Linked DNA regions of Homo sapiens: region 2 is linked to region 1. The links are contacts of gene promoters, found by promoter capture Hi-C in human tissues and cell types (Jung and others, 2019). All regions are on one chromosome and are shown on one strand. The core of a region is centred on a gene start or on the middle of the fragment in contact, and the rest is flanking DNA. Distances in the headings are between cores, read along the strand shown.

What was found. Contacts are between HindIII fragments. The study calls those that stand out against the background at their distance.
Region 2: a contact is called between a fragment that was not itself captured here and the fragment with the promoter of KIAA0319L in region 1, in 1 of the 25 tissues and cell types used here (pancreas).

The regions. Positions count from the first base shown.
Region 1 is chr1:35,553,811-35,560,929 of GRCh38, forward strand. KIAA0319L (KIAA0319 like) reads right to left here and starts at 3,593. Exons shown (of 21, transcript NM_024874.5): 1 at 3,397-3,593; 2 at 540-709. The coding sequence starts at 681. It overlaps NCDN (neurochondrin), which reads left to right and starts at 3,989. Exons shown (of 7, transcript NM_014284.3): 1 at 3,989-4,413; 2 at 5,297-5,437; 3 at 6,516-7,119. The coding sequence starts at 4,381. RefSeq lists enhancers at 310-1,266, 1,267-2,222, 3,023-3,750, 3,751-4,477, 3,767-3,826 and 2 more and silencers at 3,287-3,386, 3,397-3,536, 4,608-4,817. The HindIII fragment of the contact is 15,948 bases long and covers 1-7,119 here.
Region 2 is chr1:35,601,965-35,609,083 of GRCh38, forward strand. PSMB2 (proteasome 20S subunit beta 2) reads right to left here. Exons shown (of 6, transcript NM_002794.5): 5 at 3,269-3,318; 6 at 1-1,410. The coding sequence ends at 1,303. Among named protein-coding and RNA genes, the nearest start is that of TFAP2E-AS1, 28 kb to the left of the region's middle. The HindIII fragment of the contact is 5,765 bases long and covers 2,884-7,119 here.

The sequences.
Region 1 (7,119 bases), core at 2,343-4,842:
TAATCTCTAGGAGGAAAGCATAGTCTAAAAAATCTATCAACATAGCCCCTCTCTATGGAAAAAGTAAGGAACGCATTTTTCCCATAAGTGTAGATTCCTTTAGGAAAGGAAAGGAAGCTCAAGACCAGCCTGGGCAAATAGCAAGACTAAGCACCCATGCTGAGTGCTGTGCTACATGCTTTAATTATACTATCCCTCAAATCAAACCATGAGGTAGATAATAACCCTTCCTCAAAGATAATAGGTAATTTGCTCAAGGTTTTATAGTCATTAAGTGGAAATACCCAGTTGACTTTTATCAAGTCTTAAAACGGTTGTGCCAATTCTCCCTTATGAAAAAGAATCCAATTTAAACTCTGGTTCCAAAACAAAACAAATAAATAAACCCAACAGACCTCAGTCACCAAAAGGATGACCATTTCTGTCAATTAGCAGATTGTTTTTTCTGCCTCCTAATAGTCCTTAAAATGAACTGAGGGACTCACATAAAATGCCCTTTTCTAAAAAAAAAAATCTTAAATCTATAAAGAAAATAGTACCTGTTGACAACCACAGAACGCTGAAGCAAAAGCAAGTATAAAACAGGTACAGGCTTCTCAACCACTTCGCAGATGTCTGCCAATAATATCCTGATAAAATCCAGGAAGCAGGATTTGGCTTGACTCCCAGCCTCTTCTCCATGGCCCTCCAGACAGGCAGAACCAGTACACTAGAAGGACAGAAAGAGAAGAAATTACATGCCGAGTAATTAATAATTAATTCCTGGAAATGTGGAATGCTAGAAAATATGACAGATTAGGGGAAAGAAAAATTTCAAGTTTGTCTTTAACGGCTCAACCCTGCCTATAAATTTTAAACCTGGGCTTTGAGGTAGCCTATAATTATCAGAATAACAACACAGCAAGGGATATCAAATGAATCCACTGAAAACTGAAACTTTATATTCCTTTTTTTTTTTTTAATCTAACAGTAAATCACCTATGTGGTAGAATGGAAAGAGTACCAGCCCGCAGACAAGAAGATCTCTGAGTTTTAGTTGCAGTTCTGCTACTAACAGCTTTGTGACTTTGACCAAACACACTTTCTTACTTTTGAGGAGAAGAGGTTGCACCCTCAGAGGTAAAGTAACCTGAGGGTTATGTCTGGCCCAGTATTTTTTAAATTTCTGAATGCAAATGTCTTTAGGCAGGGCATGCACTCTCCAGTCTGCTACTGTCTCCGCCCACCACTATTATCATGAAAATCTATTCAATTTACACCTCAATGCTACCCACCCCAATCCCTGCATTCAACAGATACTTACGTCAGGCACTATGCTGGCTACTCCAGAATCTAGGGGCTGGATTATTTAGGTCTCTTCCAGCAGAAAAACTCATTTACCATAAATTTCTCCCCTCATATAAAACTTTGCTATATTGTCTAAATTAGTACGTAAATATTGGCAACATTATGAGGGTTGACTGAGTTCTGAAGAAGCAATTCAAAAACTTCTGTCCAACTATGTACCTGTCATCTACATCCAGCAAACGACACAGGCTGCCAACCCCTAACTCCTATCCACGGCCAGCATACAGGGAGATCAGCATTGCCTGGGCTGGATACCAATACTGACTAATACCAAGAAACAGCCACAGACATACACACAGCTGCAAAACTAAGGTGCAGCCCACCCAAGAAAAGGCTTTTGCAGAACCACATGCATCTGAAGGACTTCATCGTTCTCATTCACTTCCATCCATTCCTATTTCTAGTTGTTTTGTAGTTGTATTTCAGGGAGCAGGGGGCAGAAAGGAGGTGTGTGGGCCAGAGACATGTTCAAGAGATTATGAAATGGAGCCTAAGTTAGAAAGTACATCCAGCAATTTCTCTAGCCTCCCAAGAGGGAACGAGTGAGTATGCATGTGTGCATGTATGGGTGTGTATGAATCTTACCCAACACATTTCTGCCTACCACAAAAGGATTTAAAACTCAAGGTGACTCAACAGCTGTCATCAATAGCCTGACAGGTGGGTGGGAGAAGCAGAAAAGAAATGAATAGCTTTTGAAAAATGGAGTAATAAACACCACTGGACTAACAAGCTGATTAGAAGTGCCATGTCTAATAAATCTTGCGTCTAAGAGAAAGGCAGAGTTAATTTCATTTGAACTCCTAACCAGTCATTCCTCTGAAACCTATAATTGCCTAAGGGCACAAATCACTGCTAGGGTCCAGTTAAAGGCTTGCTGACCAAACGCAAGAACAACAACACATCACCAAGATCCGAATAGTTTGTTACTGAATCAAAGGGTAACAACCCAGGGAGAGAACACACACCCCCACAATACTTGACAAATGAAAATCTAGAGAAGCTCACAATAGTTCTGGCATTTAGGGCGTTACAAGTACACCCAAAATAAAAGCACTCTCTGTTGCAGCAGCTGTTCAGACAGAGCAGGGGGTAATGTTTACTTAATACTTCAGGTTGATGGGGGATGTATCACAGTTCAGTCTGTCAACTACATACGTGGAACTCCATTTATGTACACAGCGATAAGATATGTTTGAACAACGATGGAGCACGTCTGAAACAATCTATTCAGTTGGTATGAGTAATCGAGAATAAAGCTCTTTTTTAAAAAGTCTCAGATATTTGGGAAAGTTACAGAACAGACTGCCATGAATAGCTTTGCTTATATTTGCAGACACTGTTTTCCAAATAGCTGGAAAAATGAACAGATTGTTCTGGGAGGTCGTCTTTCCAATTTGTTCCTAGTTTTCAGTCTGTTAATCACAGGAGAGAGCACAAGGAGAGTCAGCTAATGCTCTTCACTAACTGCAACTACTGTCAGTTGGACACAACCACTATGAGACCAGAAGCCAAAGAGTTCCTGGAATCCCGCCAGAGGTTATCAATTTTGACTTCCTTCATTTCACCTTTGTGCTCACTGCAGCCACTACAGGACCCTCTGTGGGGCATAATTTTCAAAATCGTGGATGAGGCAGGTTTCACATTATAATGGACACATCGTGCTCAACCCCATCCCCTCTTCATTCTGCACCAACTTTCTATCTCGGTGGAGAGACCAAACATCAGAGACAGCAACTAAAGACTAGGCTGCAGAGGTCGAAGGTGGAAGAAGGACGGCAGCGCCCCGAACCCCGGCTGTCTGCCTGGCTCTCAGGGGATGGAGGGAGCTGCATGACTAGGCCCAGGCCCGAGAGAAGCGGGGTTCAGCCTGGGACCCAAGCTGCGCACCTGCAAGGACAGAAGCAGCTGGCTGCCCTGGCCGAGCCAGGGGCGCCACCTCCGGACCCAACATCCGGCCAGCGCAGCCGCTGACATCGCCCGTCCCGCTTGCCCCTCCCCTGAGCCCATGGTCCTCGGCCTGGCAGCCAGCCGCCCCCGGCCACCTACCGGGGCTCAGGGCCACATAGCGGGGCCCCGGCTCTCGGCGGCCTCCGCCTCCTCCTGGTCCATGGGCTCGGGGACCCCCAACCTTCGCTCCCCTCACCCGGAGGAGGAGGAGGAAGAGGAAGAAGGTAGTGCGGGCTCCCCACCCGGACAGCTACCTCTCGCCTCAGCCTCCCTGGACAGCGACGGCGGCCGGAAACACCGCCTCCTCCCACCTCCCCGGGACCGACCCGGAAACACACTCTCCATGCTAACCAAGCCCTCCCGCCCCTCCCCCGGGAAGGGCAATGCCGGCCGCGAGACCAAGGGGGAGGAGGGGCAGTGCTGGGCGGGTAAAACTACGCACAAGCGAAGGAATCTGGGCCCCCAGCCTCTCGCCGCCCGCTCTCCAGAGGCAGTCTGCACCTTGCCTCCTTCGCTCGAGCCCCAGCCCCCAGACTCGGGCAATACCCACAAGCAAGATGGCGGCAACGGCGGCACCCCCTACTGCTTAGCACCCTGACTTGCCATTGGCCAGAGCCCGGAGTGAAGCAGCCGCGGATTCGTCAAGAGCGGTGCGGGGGTGGGGGTGGAGCTGCAGCAGCCTGGAGCCAGGAGTGGGCAACGCGGCGTGAGCAGCGGCCCGAGGCTCCCGGAGCATCGCGCTGGGAGAAGACTTCGCCGCTCGGGGCCGCAGCCTGGTGAGCTCAGCCCCCTTCGGGCCCTCCCCTGCATCCCAGCCGGGGCCTCTCCGAGCCGGCGCTGATCGATGCCGACACACCCCGGGGACCCTATCGCGACTCCATCGCGCCATATCGCGACACCATCGTGCCCTGTCGAGACTCCATTTTGTCACAGCCCTTTTCAATATATATCTTTTTTTTTTTTAATTTGCCCTGTCATCTTTGGGGGCTGTCTCCCATGTCGTGATTTTGACGTGATCTCTCCGTGACATCACCGCGCCATCGTGAAGTGTGATCTCATCGCCGCCCTGTCGTGACTTCATCAATGTCGTGTTGTGACCTGGCTGCGGCGGGACAGGTGGTGACCGCCAGGAACCCTCCTCCCCTTCTCATCTCCCCATCTCAGCAGCCCTGCTTCGATTATCCGGCTTTTGGATTCTCCGTTGTCCTGGGAACTATCCGGGACCCCCTCTTGCTTCTCCAGCCCCTGCCGGCATCCACAGGCTGGTAGCGGGACGGGGAGGGCGAGAAGAGGGAGCGCAAGGGGTTAATTCTGCTGCTGCCGCCGCCGCTGCTGCTGCTGCTGCAGCCTCTACCCGAGGGAGGGAAAGGAGAGGAGGCAAGGAGCCTGCGGGGGCGACTGAGAGCCCTGGCTGGAGGGGTGGGGTCCCCAAAGGGGCCTCCAAGCCTTCCCTGTTGAGCGTCTTGTATTCTCACTTCTGAAGCGTATCTCTGCCTCTGAAGAAGGGAGGGGAAAGGAAGCCTGGGGTGTCCTTTTCTCCCATGTCAGCCTGAGTCCGGATAATCGAACTTCACCCATGTATGTCTCCATTTCTCCCTGTCTGTCCTCACCACTCACTCCCTCTGTGTCCCTGTGGAGGGAGATAAAACCCAGCCTCCGGTGCCAGGGGGACAGCTGAGCAGTGGGGCCAGCTCCCGCCCACCCCCAGGAGACTGGTGAGGAGAGCTGTCCGGCTGAGCAGCAGCATGCATGGTCCTTCTTTCCCGCTTTCTGGAGGTGACCTTGGACCAGGGTCCCTTCTTTATCCCTAAGGATTTGCAGATCCAGCCCCTTAAAGGGGCTTCTGGGGGGAGGTCAGTCCTGAGGAGTCCACCCCTCCAGATTCTCTCCTCCCCTCCCTCTGTGCTAATCCCTCCCTCCCTCCATCCTCCACTCTCACCCCCACCCCACCCCCGTCCCTCCTCTGCAGAGGGATGCTCAGTCCCTCTTGTGTTCACAGTTGGGCAAGGCGAGCATCATGGCCTCGGATTGCGAGCCAGCTCTGAACCAGGCAGAGGGCCGAAACCCCACCCTGGAGCGCTACCTGGGAGCCCTCCGTGAGGCCAAGAATGACAGCGAGCAGTTTGCAGCCCTGCTGCTAGTAAGGAACTGGCTGAAAATTGGGAGGTGGGAAGGGCTGGGTGGTTGGGCCCCCAAGGAATGGGGTCAGTGAGTCCCCAAGGATATGTACGTAGTGCTAGCAACCCTGGAGGCACCAACGAAGGCCCAAGACCCCTACCTTTGTGCTCTTTTTTGCTCCCCCTGAGAATGGGGGCAAAGAGGAGAATGGGACTGAATAAGGCTGTGGCACTAGGGGCTGCCTGGGTCTGTTTTCTGGGGCGTCCCAGAGCAGATGGAAGCTGACTCATAGGGTAACAGCAGCAGGTAGTAACTAGTGCAGAGTACTTGAGGGCTGGGGATGGTTGTTCTGGGCCTGGAGAGAGTAGCAGGGCTGGAAGTGGCTGGGGAGGGGTCCTAGGGGAAGGCCAGGATGGCAGTAGGTAGGTTAAGGAATGGGAGCTAGTTTGGGGCTTAGCCTTTTTGGAGGAACCCAAGCTGGGGACAGCAGAGCAGAAGCTGCAGTGCTAGGAAGGGGGGGTTGTGTGTGGGGGGTGAAGGGAGGAGGGAGTACAGCCGCTGCTTGTTTGCCATGGCAACAAGGAGAAGGCTCTGGAGTCAAGGGCTCACACTGCAGCAGAGGAGGTGTTTAGGTGAAATGTAAGGGGAAATGTTTTGACAGGCGGAGCGGCGAGACACAGGAGCCATTTCCCCTGAGAAGGTGGCAGAAATGGATCAGGGACTTCTCTGGAGGGAGCAATTAAGGAAGGACTTTAAATCCTTGGGAGATCTTAAAACATTGAGTTCTAAGCCCCTTCCATCCCAGGTTGTGGGCATTTAGACATCAGGAAGAACTTCTCAACTGGCCAGGTGTTGAAATGCTCAAATGAATGGTTGAGGAAGACTAGACCTCACTTCCATGGGACAGTCACAGATGAGAGGGATCCCAGAGGTCACATTTATCTGCCTCTAAGGAGAAAAAAGGAGCTGGATGAAATGACCTCAGATGAGTCCTGTTGCATAACCTCATCTTGCTAGTCCTCAGTGCCCCAGGATGCAGGAGAGGGACAGTCTTTCCCACTTCTTCCTTTCATCCTGATGATAGCACATACCCCCTATAGGTGACCAAGGCAGTCAAAGCAGGTGACATAGATGCCAAAACTCGGCGGCGGATCTTCGATGCTGTCGGCTTCACCTTCCCCAATCGTCTCCTGACCACCAAGGAGGCGCCGGATGGCTGCCCTGACCATGTTCTGCGGGCTTTGGGTGTGGCCCTGCTGGCCTGCTTCTGCAGTGACCCTGAACTGGCCGCCCATCCCCAAGTCCTGAACAAGATTCCCATTCTTAGCACCTTCCTCACAGCCCGGGGGGACCCGGACGATGCTGCCCGCCGCTCCATGATTGATGACACCTACCAGTGCCTGACGGCTGTAGCAGGCACACCCAGAGGGCCTCGGCACCTCATTGCTGGTGGCACCGTGTCTGCCCTATGCCAGGCATACCTGGGGCACGGCTATGGCTTTGACCAGGCCCTGGCACTCCTGGTGGGGCTGCTGGCTGCTGCCGAGACACAGTGCTGGAAGGAGGCGGAGCCCGACCTGCTGGCCGTGTTGCGGGGCCTCAGTGAGGATTTCCAGAAAGCTGAGGATGCCAGCAAGTTTGAGCTCTGCCAGCTGCTGCCCCTCTTTTTGCCCCCGACAACCGTGCCCCCTGAATGCTACCGGG
Region 2 (7,119 bases), core at 4,516-7,015, 50 kb after region 1:
AGCATATCTATATGTATTGATATAAAACAATCTCTAATATAGTGTTAAGTGAAATAAGCAATATGCAGAACTTAAAAATACTTTTTAGCCGGGCACGGTGGCTCACGCCTGTAATCCCAGCACTGGGAAGCCAAGGCAGGCAGACTGCTTGAGCCCAGGAGTTCAAGACCAACCTGAATGACATGGTGAGACCCTGTCTCTATGAAAAACACAAAAACTAGCTGGGCATTGGTGGTGTGCGCCTGTAATCCTAGCTACTCAGGAGGCTGAGATGGGAGGATCACTTGGGCCCGGGAGGCGGAGGTTGCAGTGAGCCAAGATTACGCCACAGCACTCCAGCCTGGGCTAGAGTGAGACCCTGTCTCTAAATAAATAAATAAATCTAAAAAATTTAAAGGGGGCATGTGTCTGTATGTATGTATACTTTACACAGTAACAGAATATCTCTTAAAAAACATAAGAAATTAGTAGCTGAAGTTTCCTCCAGGAAGGGAAGCAGGAAGCAGATGACTGGATTATAGGGATGGAAGAAACATTTTTCCTTCTTTTTTTGAGACGGAGTCTCACTCTGTTGCCAGGCTGGAGTACAGTGGCGCGATCTAGGCTCACTGCAACCTCTGCCTCCCGGGTTCGACCGATTCTCCTGTCTCAGCCTCCCCAGTAGCTGGGACTAGGGGTGCGTGCCACCACGCCCAGCTAATTTTTGTATTTTTAGTAGAGACGGGGTTTTACCATGTTGGTCAGGATGGTCTCGCTCTCTTGACCTCGTGATCCGCCCGCCTCGGCCTCCCAAAGTGCTGGGATTACAGGTATGAGCCACCACACCCAGCTCTGGAAGAAATATTTTTCACTACATGTTTTTGTACTGTTTGCATGTTACATTAAGTGCATGTATTATTAATTCAGGTTAATTAATTTAAAAATTTAAGTTTAAGGGCAAAAAGAACCACTACTTTAGAGAGAATGGAGATACTAGCAAGTAAAATATATGAAAGAGCTAGTTGGAAAGGAAGCCAAGCATGGAGTAGAACGTGGGGCCGTCAGCTGCTAAAGGGTACTGAGCGTTAATGGAGGGCGGAGCAGGAAGAAAAGTCAGACCTGGCAAAAAGATCATCTTCCCTCCATATCCTTTCTGAGGTAATATTAGGTAAACTGAGACCTGGACCAGAGGGCTCAATTATATCCATAGTCACCTTTATTCTGAATTAACCATTTATCAAGAGTGCGCCTGAAAAGAGTAGAAAAAAATAAAGGAGCCCATCAAAAAAAAGTTCCCTGGCAAGTGGGAGGGAGGACATGATGTTAGGAGCCCTGTTTGGGGAAGGAAATGTTATCCAGGTCATGGATGCCATTTTTGTCAATGATTCGAACACTGAAGGTTGGCAGATTCAGGATGAAGCGTTTCTGGAGCTGCAGAGAGACATGGAGGAAATCAGTCAACAAATGATTACTAAGTTCTATGTGCCAGGCTCTGTTCTAGACACTGGGGATACAAGCAAACAAAAATCCCTGCTTTTGTGGAACTGATATTCTACTGGAGGCAGTTGGCAGTAGGGCACTAGTACTCTAGTGGTAGAGGGTACCCAAACAGCAGCTGGAGGATGACTGGGAGGCAGGGAGGCTGAACTGGGAGGTGCAACTAAGAGCCTGTCTCTGGTCAGTCAGCTGACGAAAGAATGAGACAATCCAGTGTTCTGTTCCCCATAGTCTGTTACCCATCAGTCTGGTAAACACAGACGTCTCTCTTAAAATGTCTCAAGATAATAAGCTAACAAAGAGTGATTGTCCTCAGAACGAAGCAGAGGCCAGGAGCTGTGGCTCAGGCCTGTAATTGGGAGGTTGAGGTGGAAGAATATCTTGAGCCCAGGAGTTCAAGACCAGCCTAGGTAACATAGCAAGACCCCATCTCTTAAAAATAAAATGAGCTGGGCATGGTGGTGCCTGTCTGTAGTCTCAGCTACTTGGGAGGATCGCTTGAGTTCCAGAAATCCAGGCTGCAGTGAGCTATGATGGTGCCACTGCACTCCACTCCAGCCTGGGCAACAAAGTGAGATCCATCTCTTAAAAAAAAAAAAAAAAAGCGGGGGGTGGGGTGGGCACTGTGGACTGAAAACAAAAGGTTTGTGTAAGAAGCAAACTGACATTACTCCCAACGCTCCTGCTCTTATCTTCCTACTCTCTTACTAAACCACGAGGTCAAGTTCATCCTTAAGCCACAGGAACAGTAAAAGAATGAAAAAAACTAATGTGGCTGGTTTTTGACCTCCCCATTCCCCCATTCTCCATCTATACCCAAAGCCTTAGACTCTAAGGAGTAGTGTTAGAAAGGGTGTGTTCTGTAATCCTGTCCTCGCAAGCCAAAGTCTACTCTCCCCTTCTGCCCAAAGCTTCCTAGTTGCTTTCTATGGTCCTCCTGAATTCTTAGGGGAGGCTTTTTCTCACAGATTACAAAGACTCGAGCACTATTAAGGGAGCAGGCAGTATGGCAATTACAGGTGGCACAAGAACAGAGCAGGTATAAAGTCTAGGGCAGGGATGGGCGTGGTGGCTCATGCCTGTAATCCCAGCACTTTGGGAGGCCGAGGCAGGCGGATCACCTGAGGTCAGGAGTTCAAGACCAGCCTGGCCAACATGGTGAAACCCTGTCTCTACTAAAAATACAAAAAACTAGCCGGGCATGGTGGTGGGCAACTGTAATCCCAGCTACTCGGGAGGCTAAGGCAAGAGAATTGCTTGAACCCAGAGGCGGAGGTTGCAGTGAGCTGAAATCGTGCCACTGCACTCCAGCCTGGGCAACAAAAGCGAAACTCCGTCTCAAATAAAAAAATAAAGTCTAGAGCAGAAGTTCTTCAAGTACAGCCTCAGTTACCACCTGTAGGAAAATCACCTGGGACTGCCAGTTAAAGCAGAGCTTCCCAGTTTGTACCTCAGAACAGTGGACTCAGAATTGAGGGTTGGGGCAGAGATGGCAATCTGTTTAACAGGTTTCCCAGGTGATACTTACACACACTAAAATTTGAGAACCACTGGTTTGGATAAACCAGAAAGAATTAAATTATAAAACTGACATTGAGGAGGTAATCTGTGAGAGAAAAGTGAGCTTGCTATCCACACCAAACTCTATCCCTGGTAGCAACTTCACATCTGGTTAGTGGGTATGTATTACACCTTCTGGCAAAAATCTGAAAAAATATAACTGAGGAACAGGAACAACACTGGCAAACAGAGAGACAAACATTCCTTTCAGGATCCTATGGGAACTACTCACCTCCTCCAGACATTTCCTAAGGAGTTCCACTGCCCTCTCACGTGAGATAGCTGAAAGAGAACACAGAGACCAAATACTTCCGGTGCTGTCATTATATCCAACTCTCAGAAGCTTTTGATTAAGTTCCAAATCTGGCTTCTTCAGGTCTCAGTGCCACACAAACGTAAAAGGCAAAAAATGCTTTGCCTTCTAGCCTGCAATCAACTTACTCCACATGCAGCTGGGGGGGCCCCAGACCCAGTGCTCCAGCAGCTATAAGCCATTGCAAATTGATTTGCTACAGTAAAGGGTGAGCATGAAGGAATTCTGCCTCCCCTGGCCAGGGCCCACCTCTGAAGAAGTCCAGCAGCCTGTCTCTCTTTATCATAACCCACCCCTTTCACTCCCCCTTAGTCCAGGGTTTGAATCAATTCCATCTGCCCCAGTCAGCTGCAAATCAGGGAAAGAGACGATGGGGTCAGAATTTCAGCCTTGTTTTCCCAGCTGGGTCTCTGTTTAACAATGGGAAGAGAATTCATAGGATGGGGCTGAGACTCTCCCCAAATAGGAGCCAAAGGAACTGTCTGTGGGCGTGGCAAACTGGGACGACATGTTATGCACTCAGGCTTCAGGGGTGGCTAGTAGTTATTTTGGTGGGCAAATCAGCTGTATTACTGACAGATGCCAAATCAAGAAAGTCACTGGGAGGCCAGGCTAATTCTTTTCAGGATGTGGCCTGGAGCTCTAGCGTGGCTAAGGTTGAGCGAGAGGGCAGCACCAAAAAAGAATGAACATGCCAGATTCTTACGATACTGACAGTGAAGAATGGAATGTAAGGAGAGAAGTGGTTATCTGTGCTTCATCTATAGTCTGTAAAAGCTAAGAATTCCAAAGTACCCACTGCCCACAGAGGCTAAAGTCGAGGTTAGGACTGGGGTCAGAAGATGGAACTTAGCACAAAAGCATCCCTGTGTCTAGGAAGTCCTAACCAGAGCACTTAGGCAAGGGGAGGAAATAGAGTACCCCAATTGGAAAGCAGGAAGTCAAATGTCCCTATTTGCAGATGACATGATCTTCTATATAGAAAAACCTAAAGACCCCACCAGAAAACTCTCACATCTGATAAATGAATTCCATAAAGTTGCAGGATACAAAATTAATATACAAAAATCAGTATTTCTATACACAAACTAGCTGAAAAAGAAATCAAGAAGGCAATCCCATTTACAATAGACACAAAAATCAAAGAAAATAAAATACCTAGGAATAAATTTAACCAAGGAGATGAAAGACCTCTATAACGAAAACTATAAAACACTGATGAAATAAGCTGAAGAGGATACAAGCGAATGGAAATACATCTCATGCTCATGGATCAGAAGAATTAATATTATGAAGATGACAACACTACCCAAAGAAATTTATATATTCAATGCAATCCCTATCAAAATGCCAATGACATGCCTCACAGAATTATGGAAAAAAATCCTAAGATTTGTAAGGAACCACAAAAGACTCTGAATAGCTAAAGCAATCCTGAACAAAAAGAACAAATCTGGTAGTTGATACCACTACCAGACTTCAAAATATATCACAAAGTTGTAGTAACCAAAACAGTATGCTACTGGCATAAAAATAGACACATAGACCAATTAAACAGAATAGAGAAATTAAGAAATTAAGCCACATATCTACATTTGACTTTTGATGAAGGTACCAAGAACACTCATTGGGGAAAGGACAGTCTGTCTCTTCAATAAATGGTGCTAGAAAAACTGGATATCCATACACAGAAGAATGAAACCAGACCCTCACCTCTTACCCTATACAAAATTCAACTCAAAATGGATCAAAGACCTCAATTTAAGACCAGAAACTAGAAGAAAACACAGGGAAAAAGCCTCAGGACACTGATCTGGAAAAAGATTTTATGAATAATCTCATGAACACAGGCAACAAAAGCAAAAATAAACAAACAGGATTACATCAAACTAAAATGCTTCTGCACAGCAAAGGAAACAAGAGTGAAAAGGCAACCTACAGAATGGGAGAAAATACATGCAAACTACTCATCCAACAGGGAGTTAATATCCAGAAAATATAAGGAACCGAAATATCTCAATAGAGAACAAAAATTCATTAAAAAATGGGCATATCATCTCAACAGACATTTCAAAAGACATACAAATGGCCAACAAATATATGGAAAAAATTCTCAACATCACTAATCATCACAGAAATGCAAATCAAAACCACAATGAGGTAACACCTCATCCCAGTTAGGAATAGCTATTATCAAAAAGACAAAAAACAACAAATGCTGGCAAGGATGTAGAGAAAAGGAAATTCTTTATACACTGTTGGTAGGAATGCAAACTAGTATAGCCACTAGGGAGGACAGTATGGCGGTCCCTCAAAAAACTACAAATAGAACTACCATATGATCTGGCAATCCCACTACTGGGAATTTATCCAAAAGAAAGGAAATCATTATATTGGATGAAATCATTATATCACTGGGGAAATATTGCACCCCAGTGTTTACTGCAACACTATTCACAATAGCCAAGATATGGAACCAACCTAGGTGTCCGAGAACAGATCAATGGATAAAGAAAATGTGGTATATATACACCATGAAATACTATTCATCCATAAAAAAGGAAATACTGTCATTCAACATGAATGGAACTGGACGGTATTCTGCTAAGTGAAATAAGCCAAGAACAAAGTTAAAACACTGCACGTTCTCACTCATATGTAGAAGCTAAAAAAGCTGATCTCATAGAAGTAAAAAGTAGAATAGAGGATACTAGAGGCTGAGAAATCCTCTGTAAGGGATGGGGGACATTTGTTAAAAGATACGAAATTGGCAGGACACGGTGGCTCACGCCTGTAATCCCAACACTTTGGGAGGGCAAGGCGGGTGGATCACTTGAAGTCAGGAGTTCTGGACCAGCCTGGCCAACATGGTGAAACCCCATCTCTACAAAAAATACAAAAACTAGCCAGGCGTGGTGGCACACGCCTGTAATCCCATCTACTTGGGAGGCTGAGGCACGAGAATTGCTTGAACCTGGGAGGCGGAGGTTGCTGTGAGCCGAGATCACTCCACTGCACTCCAGCCTGGGCGACAGAGGGAGACTCTGCCTCAAAAAAAAAAAAAAGATAGAAAATTATGGATAGACAGAGGAATAAGTTCTATTGTTCTATACCACTGTAAAATTACTATGGCTAACAATATATAGTTTCAAATAGCTAGAAGGAGGATACTAAATGTTCCCAACACAAAATGATAAATGTTTGAGATGATCAATATACTAACTACCATGATCTGTTTACATTACATGTATTGAAACATCATGATGTACTCTATGAATATATGTACAATTATTATTTGTCAATTAAAAAATAAAATTTTAAAAAAGCATCCCTGTATCTGAAGTTTTGCCAAACTGACGCTTTACGGACAAGTAGAGCGACGGCTTTTTCTTTCAAGAGGAGGCAGCCATTAGGTGACAACCAAGGGAAGGCTCAGATTTGTAGCCTTAGAAAGCTTTGATGTTTAAGCAAAGAAACCTTCAGTTGTCATGCTGGGGACCTGTTCATCCTTGCAAGTTCCAAACAAATATACAGCTACTTGCTTTACCCACTCATTCTTTACTGAGATGCCAAAAATCTAGGCAAAGCAAAATAAGTGAAAAAACTTGAACTCTTAGAAATGAAGGATTTTAGAACCCAATAAAAATGTTTTATTCACTGTGACATCTATTCCAATCCTCCTTCAAAACAAAACCCAGCTCTAGAGATATGTACTATCTCATTTTGAATGGCAAAAAATAGAACTTACATCAGCTTTTGGAAGACCCTAC